3 separate regions of the Homo sapiens genome follow, and all the other regions are linked to region 3. The links are contacts of gene promoters, found by promoter capture Hi-C in blood cells and fetal thymus (Javierre and others, 2016). All regions are on one chromosome and are shown on one strand. Each heading gives the region's core, a stretch centred on a gene start or on the middle of the fragment in contact. The rest is flanking DNA. Distances are from core to core; before and after follow the strand shown. Region 1 overlaps CEP85L (centrosomal protein 85L). Region 2 overlaps CEP85L (centrosomal protein 85L). Region 3 holds the start of MCM9 (minichromosome maintenance 9 homologous recombination repair factor).

Evidence for each region. Contacts are between HindIII fragments. The CHiCAGO score rates a contact against its expected background, and 5 or more counts as called.
Region 1: a fragment that was not itself captured here is called in contact with the fragment with the promoter of MCM9 in region 3 in 1 of 17 cell types (total CD4 T cells); the score reaches 5.6 in total CD4 T cells.
Region 2: a contact is called between a fragment that was not itself captured here and the fragment with the promoter of MCM9 in region 3, in 3 of 17 cell types (non-activated CD4 T cells, total CD4 T cells and naive CD4 T cells). The highest score is 6.2, in non-activated CD4 T cells.

The regions. Positions count from the first base shown.
Region 1 is chr6:118,541,898-118,545,275 of GRCh38, forward strand. All of the region lies in intron 3 of CEP85L (centrosomal protein 85L), which reads right to left. Among named protein-coding and RNA genes, the nearest start is that of PLN, 4.7 kb to the right of the region's middle. The HindIII fragment of the contact is 2,464 bases long and covers 408-2,871 here.
Region 2 is chr6:118,560,908-118,563,982 of GRCh38, forward strand. All of the region lies in intron 3 of CEP85L (centrosomal protein 85L), which reads right to left. It overlaps PLN (phospholamban), which reads left to right. Exons shown (of 2, transcript NM_002667.5): 2 at 1-809. Among named protein-coding and RNA genes, the nearest start is that of PLN, 14 kb to the left of the region's middle. The HindIII fragment of the contact is 2,590 bases long and covers 300-2,889 here.
Region 3 is chr6:118,933,840-118,937,086 of GRCh38, forward strand. It overlaps MCM9 (minichromosome maintenance 9 homologous recombination repair factor), which reads right to left and starts at 1,320. Exons shown (of 14, transcript NM_017696.3): 1 at 1,052-1,320. It overlaps LOC124901389 (a long non-coding RNA gene), which reads left to right and starts at 1,076. Exons shown (of 2, transcript XR_007059729.1): 1 at 1,076-1,151. RefSeq lists silencers at 569-818, 1,069-1,498. The HindIII fragment of the contact is 20,540 bases long and covers 1-3,247 here.

The DNA.
Region 1 (3,378 bases), core at 390-2,889, 390 kb before region 3:
CTAATTATAAGGAAATGTAACTGACCAAATCTTGAAAATTATTACATTTCAAAAACAAATCAAATTCATTTACAAGCCTGATCAGCCTTACATGAACTAATGTTTAGGAATAACAAGTTTACAGAACCAAGAGAAAAAAGAGAATTTAACAGATTTATTTACATAGATGGAATCACAGTGTTGTTTTTTAAGGTTTATAATGGCAAAAATTATATCCCCTGATATTCAATAAGAAAATTCACAAATTATGGTGTATTATATGCCAAACTCACATTTACATAGTAAAAATAAGACATTAAAATTTGTAACATATATTTTTAATAAACAGCACACAAAAATGCCCAAGCATATTTAAAATTATTCTCCAATGAACAGGTAATGTTTTAGGGTTTTTTAGAGTTTTTAAAAGCTTAACATGCCTGAAGATAAGGACTTTTTTTTTAAGTGCATTCCTTACCTAATAGAGTGCCTGACAACCAGTAAACCAGTAGTTTAAAGAAATGAATTAAGAACTGGCTTCTTGTGAAATTTACATGTTTAACAAAATTAGCTAAAATTAATAGCTACTTTCAAAATAACCACATTTTTCAAGCTAGTTTAGTATAATCAGAACATTTGGGCTTCAAAGAGACTTTAGAAATTAATTCGATCTGCCTTCCATTTATTTACGAGAAAACTACAGTACAGAAAGATTCATTTTCTGAAAATCATAGAGTAAGGTAGAGAGAGGACAAAAAAATGAGAATGACAGTTCCAATTCAACTCCTCATTAATATTCCTTGACCAACCTTCAACCACTCCAAAAATCTCTTATATTATGGTTACACAAAACTATGGAATGCCATTGTTTTGGACTGAGACTTAATAGCCCACGCCAAACCACAATGCAGTCACTCTGGTTTGTTTTGGGCTGAGTCTTAACAGACCAGACCAAACAAGAATGGAGCCACTCCTGCTAGGAGCCACATAACCAAACTGAACTTCAACATCACCAAGTTTTCCCAAAAAAAAAAAAAAAAAAAAAAACAGGATATTCACAGCAACCAATCAGAAAGGGCCCAGTTTACCTGAATTAGCATGATAAAGAAGTCTGTTTTAACCTTATAAGGAAAGTAACTTACAATAACCAATTCACTTTTTGTTCCTTCTTTCTTTAGCCTCTTTCTGCCTAGAAAGCCCACCTCCTCCACTTAGCTCATCTGATGGCCTATTTTTATAGAGACACTGCCCAATTCATGAATCATTAATCAAAGCCAATTAATTAAACTCAATTTGTTGAAATTGTTTTTTGATGTTACACACACGTCAAAGTGTGAACAAGTTAAAGAATTAAGTGCAAGAAAAATCTCAACTTTTCAGAGGCAATCATTAGGGACAAAGAAAATTAGTTTATCTAAGTTTCTGAGGGCCTTTATTCTCTCTTCTTTCAACTTATCCTTTTTAAGAGTTCACTTGTAATAGAAAAATAATATTCTAAATATCCATTAAGTATAAAAATATCTTATTGAGCCTTCTAAGGGATAAACAGTGTGTAGAGCTTAAAAAAATCAATCAGTCTCTATTCATGAAGTTTATGGCAAGGAAAATAAATAGACCTATATAATATAAAAAGTCCCCCACCAACTTCAGATTTATCTGACTTTTCTGAATTATAAGAGATATTCACTTATTACTTGTATAATTAGAAATTAAGAACAAGCAAAACAGGGCTTCTCCCCACCTACTTCTGAATAATGAAGGAGTTCTATAAGAACAAGACAGTAAGGAAAATAATTCGGATAGAAGAAATAACATATAATGGCAGAGTTGTCAAATCGTTATGGTAGGCATACATGGCAATGGACAGATCAGGAACGATGTTTTATGTAATTCTGTAAAGAGTGGGTTTTTCATCTCGAAAGAGAAATCAATAAAAAGTTCTCAGCATGTGAATGACAATCAAATGTGCACTTGGATATCAGAGTAAAAACTGAGTAGGAAAGAGTCACAACGAAGGGTAGAAAAACTAGTTAATAAACGTCTATGAAAGTTAAGAGGAGAGTTGGTCAGGCTATGAGAACAAAGACATATTTCACAATCTGCATTTGGTTTCTAAGTGAATGGGGAGTCTGGCAGAAGACAGAAAAGGTATGAGCCTCCAATTTCAATTTTGTATCAAAATCAGTGATAGTGCCACCACAAAGTTTGCGAATGCGAGGAGCTCAAAGGGCTGAGATATCAACCACAAAGATAAGAAATTTAATATGTCTGGAGAAATACTACAATCATTAAATTGAAATAGAACCTTCTTAACAATGTAACAGCATCATGATCGGGACCCTATAGAATTTTGAAGCAAGTATTTGGAGACCTAAGGGTTGGTTTTTGTTGTTAAATTTGTTTTGTGATGTATGTGTTTCCCTTTGTTATTTTTGGCTTTGGTTCTGTCCGTTTCCTTTGTACAAAACATGCACTTCTCTTAGAAGTCATACTGCTTATTATTACACGTGCTCATTTGACTCTCAATTGGGAATTTCTTTTTCTCCTGGTGTTATCTTGCACTAGTGGTTACCTTCTAAATGTTAAATTTTCATTTCCATATTATTTGTATACTGATAAACCATAATTTCCTTGAAGCCACGTAGCATGCTATAGCATTTCTATCACTTAGAATGTTTAATAACTTTCCAAAATTTATGTAGACCTATATGAGTCCTTTTCTTAATCCATCTGGCCTCTCTTAATGTCAATGCTCTTCTCCACCCCTCATCAAGATGAGGAAAGAGAATTTGCCCAGAATTCAGATATTTATGAAAAAATAAAATGTTTGGGTCTCCAGGTTATCTGGCAAATCAAGTGAAAAGTGAACCTACCTCCCCCAAATGACCCCTAAGCTTTATAGGTTACTTTATCACTGGGTTATATCAACAGCCCCCCAACTCCAGTTGATGAGTAAATCTTATTTTCTTTTCCCTATTGCCCTATGGAGAGAATTTCCATCCTCTCAATCTCAGACCACTAATTCTTATTCGCAGTTTTGCTTAGATGTTTTTTGAACCAGTCCTTCCCTACGTAGCTTTAAAATTTAAGGCAGTAATTATCAAACCCTCAAGTACCCTCAAGAGATAGGTAAAATCTTCTTCCTGGGTGTCTAGGAGATCTAATCTAAAAAAAGCTCCTTATCTTTGATGTATTGTGAACATTACAAAAATTGATTCAAAGCTTGCATTTTACTGTATCTCTGTCTAAATATTAAAATGCTTTAATTTAGTCATCACTTATATTAACTTCTGGTCAAAAATTTCCAAAAACCGATTCTATTTTGAAGCTTCTTCGCCCTCCGGATACACCACTACAGACTGGAGTTTAAATGCTCAATGTAAAAGATTACTACATACA
Region 2 (3,075 bases), core at 345-2,844, 370 kb before region 3:
GTTGAAGACATGTTACTAATATAACTATTATTAAAAGAGTAGAGGATGTGTAATTAACCATATCTTCTAAAACATGGTTACTAAAAGAATATGTAACATCAATATTGACCTTGGTTTCTTACACAAGTGTTGCTAACTCAATAGTGAAGGAGACACTATTAAATTTTCTGAACCCATGAGAGATACTAGAGATGGGGAGTGGAAAGTGTTTGGTTCAGGGATATCTGAAGAACAGAAGGGCAGAGATTTCTTAAGTGACGCCTCATCTACAAGCTGGAAATTCCTAAAAACAAGTAGAAAGCTTATAAACAACAGGTGATACACTCACCTCACTGGTTTTAGTAAATTACCAATACAGAAAGTATCCCTAGTCTTAAAAACAAGTGGAAAATTTGAACTGATTAGTCATATTCCTTTGATTACACTGTTTGTTACAATATTTTTCTCAGTAAACAGAAATAACTAATTTTTTTGTTCTTCATTCTTTGATAGAAATTAAAATCTTATTCTGTGAGGATTACAGAATACTATAACTCAAATTATAAAGTAGAATAAACTCTTTAAATAATTATTCTTCATCATAAAGTGTAAAGAATAAGATATAAGAAAACAATTTATTTTTAAAATTTAATATACTAAATGCTCAAATATGTTCTACTATAGAATAAGTTCTTATCTTAATTTACAGGGCACTAAAAACAATTTTAAAATGCTTAATGTTGCCTTTTATATTTTAATTGGTTAAGAATATATATTTGTTTAATGCAAATCAGAATCACTATATTAAAATGAATGTTCTTGAAAACTCAGTGGGGCTGCTCTATAATACACTTACAATTGATACTAACGATAAAACGCTCTAATTATAGTTTTAATTTTATAGGGGTTTTTTTGGTGACTTTCCCCAAATAAAACAAAATCAAGACGCCCAAGTCCAGACACACAAGAGGGCAGACGTATATAAGATAACAAATTGCTACTACATAGCGATTATTTATCTTTTGATTATTTTTGAGACTTCTGGCAAAGTAGGACTATAATAAATTTTCAGAAAAGATCTGCTCTTCTGCTAAGTAACAGCACACTTCAAAATGTCCAGAAATTTTATGCTAATATTACATAGAAAACTTGACAGATGAAAAAAGTGAAACACATTACTAATTTTATTCATTAAAACAGGTATATAAAAGTCCTCTTTAACTACCTAATGAATGTGTCATATCCTAATATAGGGAGTGTCATAGTGTTCACATCTTTGAATATATAAATTATCTCAAACAGTTAAAAAATTAAAGCCAGAACAGGGTACAAAAATAAGAATAAAAATAAGAAAACTTTCTGTTCACAGGACGTAACAGAATACTTTAAACACTCTCAAGTTATAAATAAAACTTTTTCATTATTATTTCATGTTAGACAAAAAACAAGTCATTTTACTTTAACTCATTTTATCAATTTTTTTTTTTTAAATCAAGAGACAGGGTGTTACTCTGTCATGCAGGCTGGAATGCAGTCACATGATCATTGCACACTGCAGCCTTGAACTCTTGGGGTGCAAAGGATTCTCCAACCTTGGTTCCCAAGTAGCTGGCACTACAGGGGCACATCACCATATATGGCTAATTCTTTTTATTTTTTGTAGAGATGGGGTCTCATTGCCCAGGCTGGTCCCAAACTCCTATCCTCAAGCTATCCACCCCCCATCAGCCTCCCAAAGTGTTGGGATTACAGGGGTGAGCTACCATGCTTGGTCCAAATTTTTTGTTTATACAAGGGAAAATCTCCAGTAAAATATGTATAGGTGCCAATACCATAACTGTTCAAACACCCTTATGACTAAATAGGCACAAAATTTCATCTTTTTAATGACTGCCACCTGAAGTTCAGAAACATCCTAGGGAAAAAAGGATAAACAACTTCATCAATAAAGAGGCTACTATTATTTCACTACTGTCTGGGAGATCCATCGTGGGCTTACAGGAATCCAAATGGATACTGCCGTTACGTGTAGAAGTGTTTATCCTCCATCCCTTCCACCCTACCTTCCCCAAGAAAAGGAACTCAAGGGGGCCATGGAAAGGGAAGGAGTCTTCCCAAAAAGACCAGACTGTTTTTCCTCCTCTGTCATAGTCCCTATAGAGTCAGGCAGCTTAGGGGTTGCAGGGGGTGGGTAGCATAAGTGTGATGTACTACCGAGGAAAGAGTCAAAGACTAGCAGTAGGCATTACACATGGAGCCTTCTGTCATAAACCATCTGAGGGCATAATGGCTTCTTTTCATTCACAAAGGAAAATGATTCAGAGTACTACACTCCTGCACTCTTGATGATTTAGCAGAAAACCATGGAAATCAAGGAACAACACACACATAAGAATGTGTGTCTGGCTCAATAATTATTCTGGACTAAGTCCTAGGAAGAGCAAACCTTCAATGTTACAAATTAACCTGGGGAGTGGGGAGCTGTGAGAATCAAATGAGATAAAATACTGTGAAAGCTACAGAATTCTATAACATATAAATCTAAGGTTTTATTAGATTATGACTTTCAGCCAAATTCCTTTTCTTAGTTGTAAAAATATTGTTTTTTCATGGTGAGTGTTTAGGAGTTGTGCTTGCAAATCACAATTTATCAGACGGCCTGGTCCTTATTAAGGTTCTTCTCTTTATGTAAAAATTAGACTAAAAGAAAATCAGTGTTTCTATGATTTTTATCTTTTTTCCTTTTTAGAGACGGGGTCTGGCCATGTTGCCCAGGCTAGTCTCAAACTCCTGGACTCAGGCAATTCTCCTGCCTTGGCCTCCCAAATTGCTGGGATTACAGGCGTGCGCTACAGTGCCTGGCCAGAAGTCAATGTTTCAAAGAGGCTTTTAAGAAACAACTATGATGAAAGCTTTTAAAATAAAGATAATACTACTTGGAGGCTCCAAGAAGGTATTTAACAACTTTTTTCTGTAGTTTTCTAAGGAGGAAATTAGAAGGGAAGCAGTCATTTAATGATTACAACTTAGTTTGTCTAGTTTTCTTTACCTGAATTCATCTTTCTACTCCAAAACTTAAAAGCGCTATAAAGAGAC
Region 3 (3,247 bases), core at 70-2,569:
CAATGAGTGGAAATAAATTACGGCCTCCACGGTAATTTGTTTTTGGTTAAGCAATATAAATTCAGCCAAGTGTAAAGCAGAAAAAGCACTTGGGAAGGAATATCTCCACAATGTGGACTTTGCCCAAAAAAAAAAAAAAAAAAATCTGGACTCCCAACAGTGGCTACAAGAGAATCACTATGATTCTATTAAAGCATATTAAGTTTAGAGCCACAAATTTAGCAATTTGAAAAACAGCTCCACACAAGGCAGGAAAAGGGCAGCAGCAGAATTCAACGTTCAAATTAAGGTCAGATTAAATTTTGCCTAGTTAGGCTAGCATTTCTATGGTTATATGGACCATCGTTATTCATTCCCTTTCAACATCTATGCAAAACTGACTAATCAACTGTGTTATCAGCAGTTTGCTAAATCAATAAACGTACCTACTACCCACCCAGATAGACACTGGAGGGACTTTTTGTTTTGAGAAGGGTCATTTCACAACTTTCAAGTTCTCTTTCCTTTTCTTATTGAATATTTGGGGTCAAAATAAAATCATTTGCTTTACTTTGTCCTCTTGACCACAGCGAAGCGTCGAAAAGAAGACAGGAGAGTGCCTAACTGCACTGGCATCCCCCAGCTGTCTCCGGGAATCGCGGCAGCCCCGCCCCGCCCGCCTGCACCTGCCGGGAGCCCCGCCCCCTCCGCGCGGGCTGGCGGGACGCGCGCCCTCGGCCCCGCCCCACTCCCTCCGCCCCTCTCACTGCGGGGGCGCGCCATTTCGCGCCTCCGGGCCGCTCGGCTGCCCCAGGGGCGCCTGGCAAACGTGGAGTCGCTCGGTTTTGGAGGCATGCTTTCCAAACTTTCTAATTCACAGGGTCTTTGCACGCAGCCCCTGCCCCACAACACCTTGGCAGTCTCTGAGACTTCTGGGGCTCTTCTCCCGGGCAGCTCCCGTGCCTGTCCGGTCCCGGAGTTGAATAGTTTTTGAAGTAATGAGACGGGAACGAGACTTGGGACGAACTGGAGAAAAACATAACCGCGAAAGGAGGAGGCGGCTATCACTTACTGGCTGTGTCAGAAGTCGCCGGGAACGCGTTGCTCCCGAGGCCGAAGGGCCCAGAGAGCTCCAGCCAGGCAGCGGGTTCGTCTCCGGCGCAAGAAGGCTGGTGAGGCGGAGTGCGCGCGTGCACGTGGCCGCTCGAGGCGCCACCGGCCGCGGGGACGCGCGGGCTGTGTCGGGCGGCCTAGCGCCTGCGGCTCTGCCGGGCCTGCGCTCTCGACCGACGCCGGGCCGCGCACCGCCTCAACTTCCCTGCCCCGGCGGCTCTTCCGGATGGAGACGAGGCAGCGGGGCGGGGTGGAGCGGAGCGGGCGGATTGGGGCGGAGCCAGGAGGGTCCCGGGCGGGGAGAGGGGCGGGACCCGAGCAGTGACCTCAGGCTAAGTGGCCAGAGCAGGGTTGTGCGGCGGCTCAGATCGGATCTTAGGGTTTGTTTTTTGTCTGTCCAAGGAATTTGCCTAACCCAAGGCCACAGAGGATCTCTTCTGTGTTTTCTGACACAAGTTTTAGAATTTTAGGTTTTATATTGAGGTCTGTGATCCAATTAGAGCTAATTTTTGTCTGTGGTGCAAAGTATGGATCTTAGGTCATTTTTTTGTATGTGAATAGTGTCATTTGTTTAGAGAGCTTTCTTTTTCTCACTGAATAGCTTTTGCACCTATGTTTAAAATCAGTTGTCCCTAAAGCATCAGTTGTGGGTCTATTCTTAGACTTTCTATTCTGTTCCGACAATTTATTATATTTCTCTCTACAAAAATACCACATTGTCTTGATTCCTGTAGATTCGTAAGAGTCTTAAAATCAGATCGTGTTTGGCCTCCAATTTTTTGTTATTTTTCAAAAATGTTCTGGCTCATCTAGTCCCTTGGGTTTTCATATGAATGTTAAAATCAGCTTGTCACTTTAAAAAGTTGGGATTGTGATTGGTTACATTTCGTCTATAGATCCATGTAAGAATAATTTACATGTTAACAATATTTAGTAATGACCCTTAAAGTAAGCCTCTTCATTTATTTAGGTGTTATTTCACTCAGCAAATGTTTTGATCTTTTGTCAGGTCTAGTCTTATATAGTCCATTTTCACAGTGCTAATAAAGACATACCTGGGACTGAGTAATTTATAAAGGAAAGACGTTTAATTGACTTACAGTTCAGCATGGCTGGGGAGACTTCAGGAAACTTAAAATCATGGCAGAAGCGGGAGCAAACCTCCTTCTTCACAGGGCTGCAGGAAGGAGAAGTGAGGAGCAAGGAGGGAAAAGCCCCTTAGAAAACCATCAGATCTTGTGATACCTCACTCACTATCAGAGAACAGCATGGGAATAACCACCCCCATGATTCAGTTACCTCCCACCGGGTCCCTCCCACAACACCTGGGGATTATGGTAACTACAGTTCAAGATGAGGTTTGGGCAGGGACACAGCCAAACCATATCACCCTATGTCAGATTTATCCATAAATCTAAGGATGGGGGAAAAATATACTTCTTGATATTATGTAAATGACATTTTAAATTTTCAGTTGTTCTTTGATAGTGTCTTAGTCTGTGTTGCTAAAAAGGAATGCCTGAGACTGAATAATTTACAAATAAAAGAGGTTTATTTGGCTCACACTTCTGCAGGCTGCTTCTGGTGAGGGCTTCAGGCTGCTTCCACTCAGTGAAGGGGAGGCTGCCTGTGCAGATCACATGGCCAGAAGAGAAGCAAGAGAAAGGGGAGGTAGTGGTCAGGCTCTTTTTAACAATCAGCTCTGGAGGCAACTAACAGAATGAGAACTCATTATGCAATGGCAGCACTAAGTTTTCCTGAAGGATCTGCCCCTGTGACCCAGACACCCCCAACTAGGCCCCACACTTGGGATCAGATTTTAAGATGAGATTTGGAAGGGAGAAATACTCAAACTATGTCAGATAGTGTGTAAAAATATGATTGGGGGTTTTGTTGTTGTTGTTACAGGTTCTTGCTCTGTTGCTCAGGCTGGAGTGCAGTGGTGTGATCATGGCCCACTGCAACCTCTGTCTGCCAGGTTCAAGCAATCCTCCTACCTCAGCCCCCTAAGTAGCTGGGTGATATGGTTTGGCTGTGTGTCCCCACCCAAATCTCACCTTAAATTGTAATCCCCAGGAGTCTGGTGGGAGGTGATTGAATCATGGGGCGAACTTCCCCCTTGCTCTTCTCATGATAGTGAGTTCTCATGAGATCA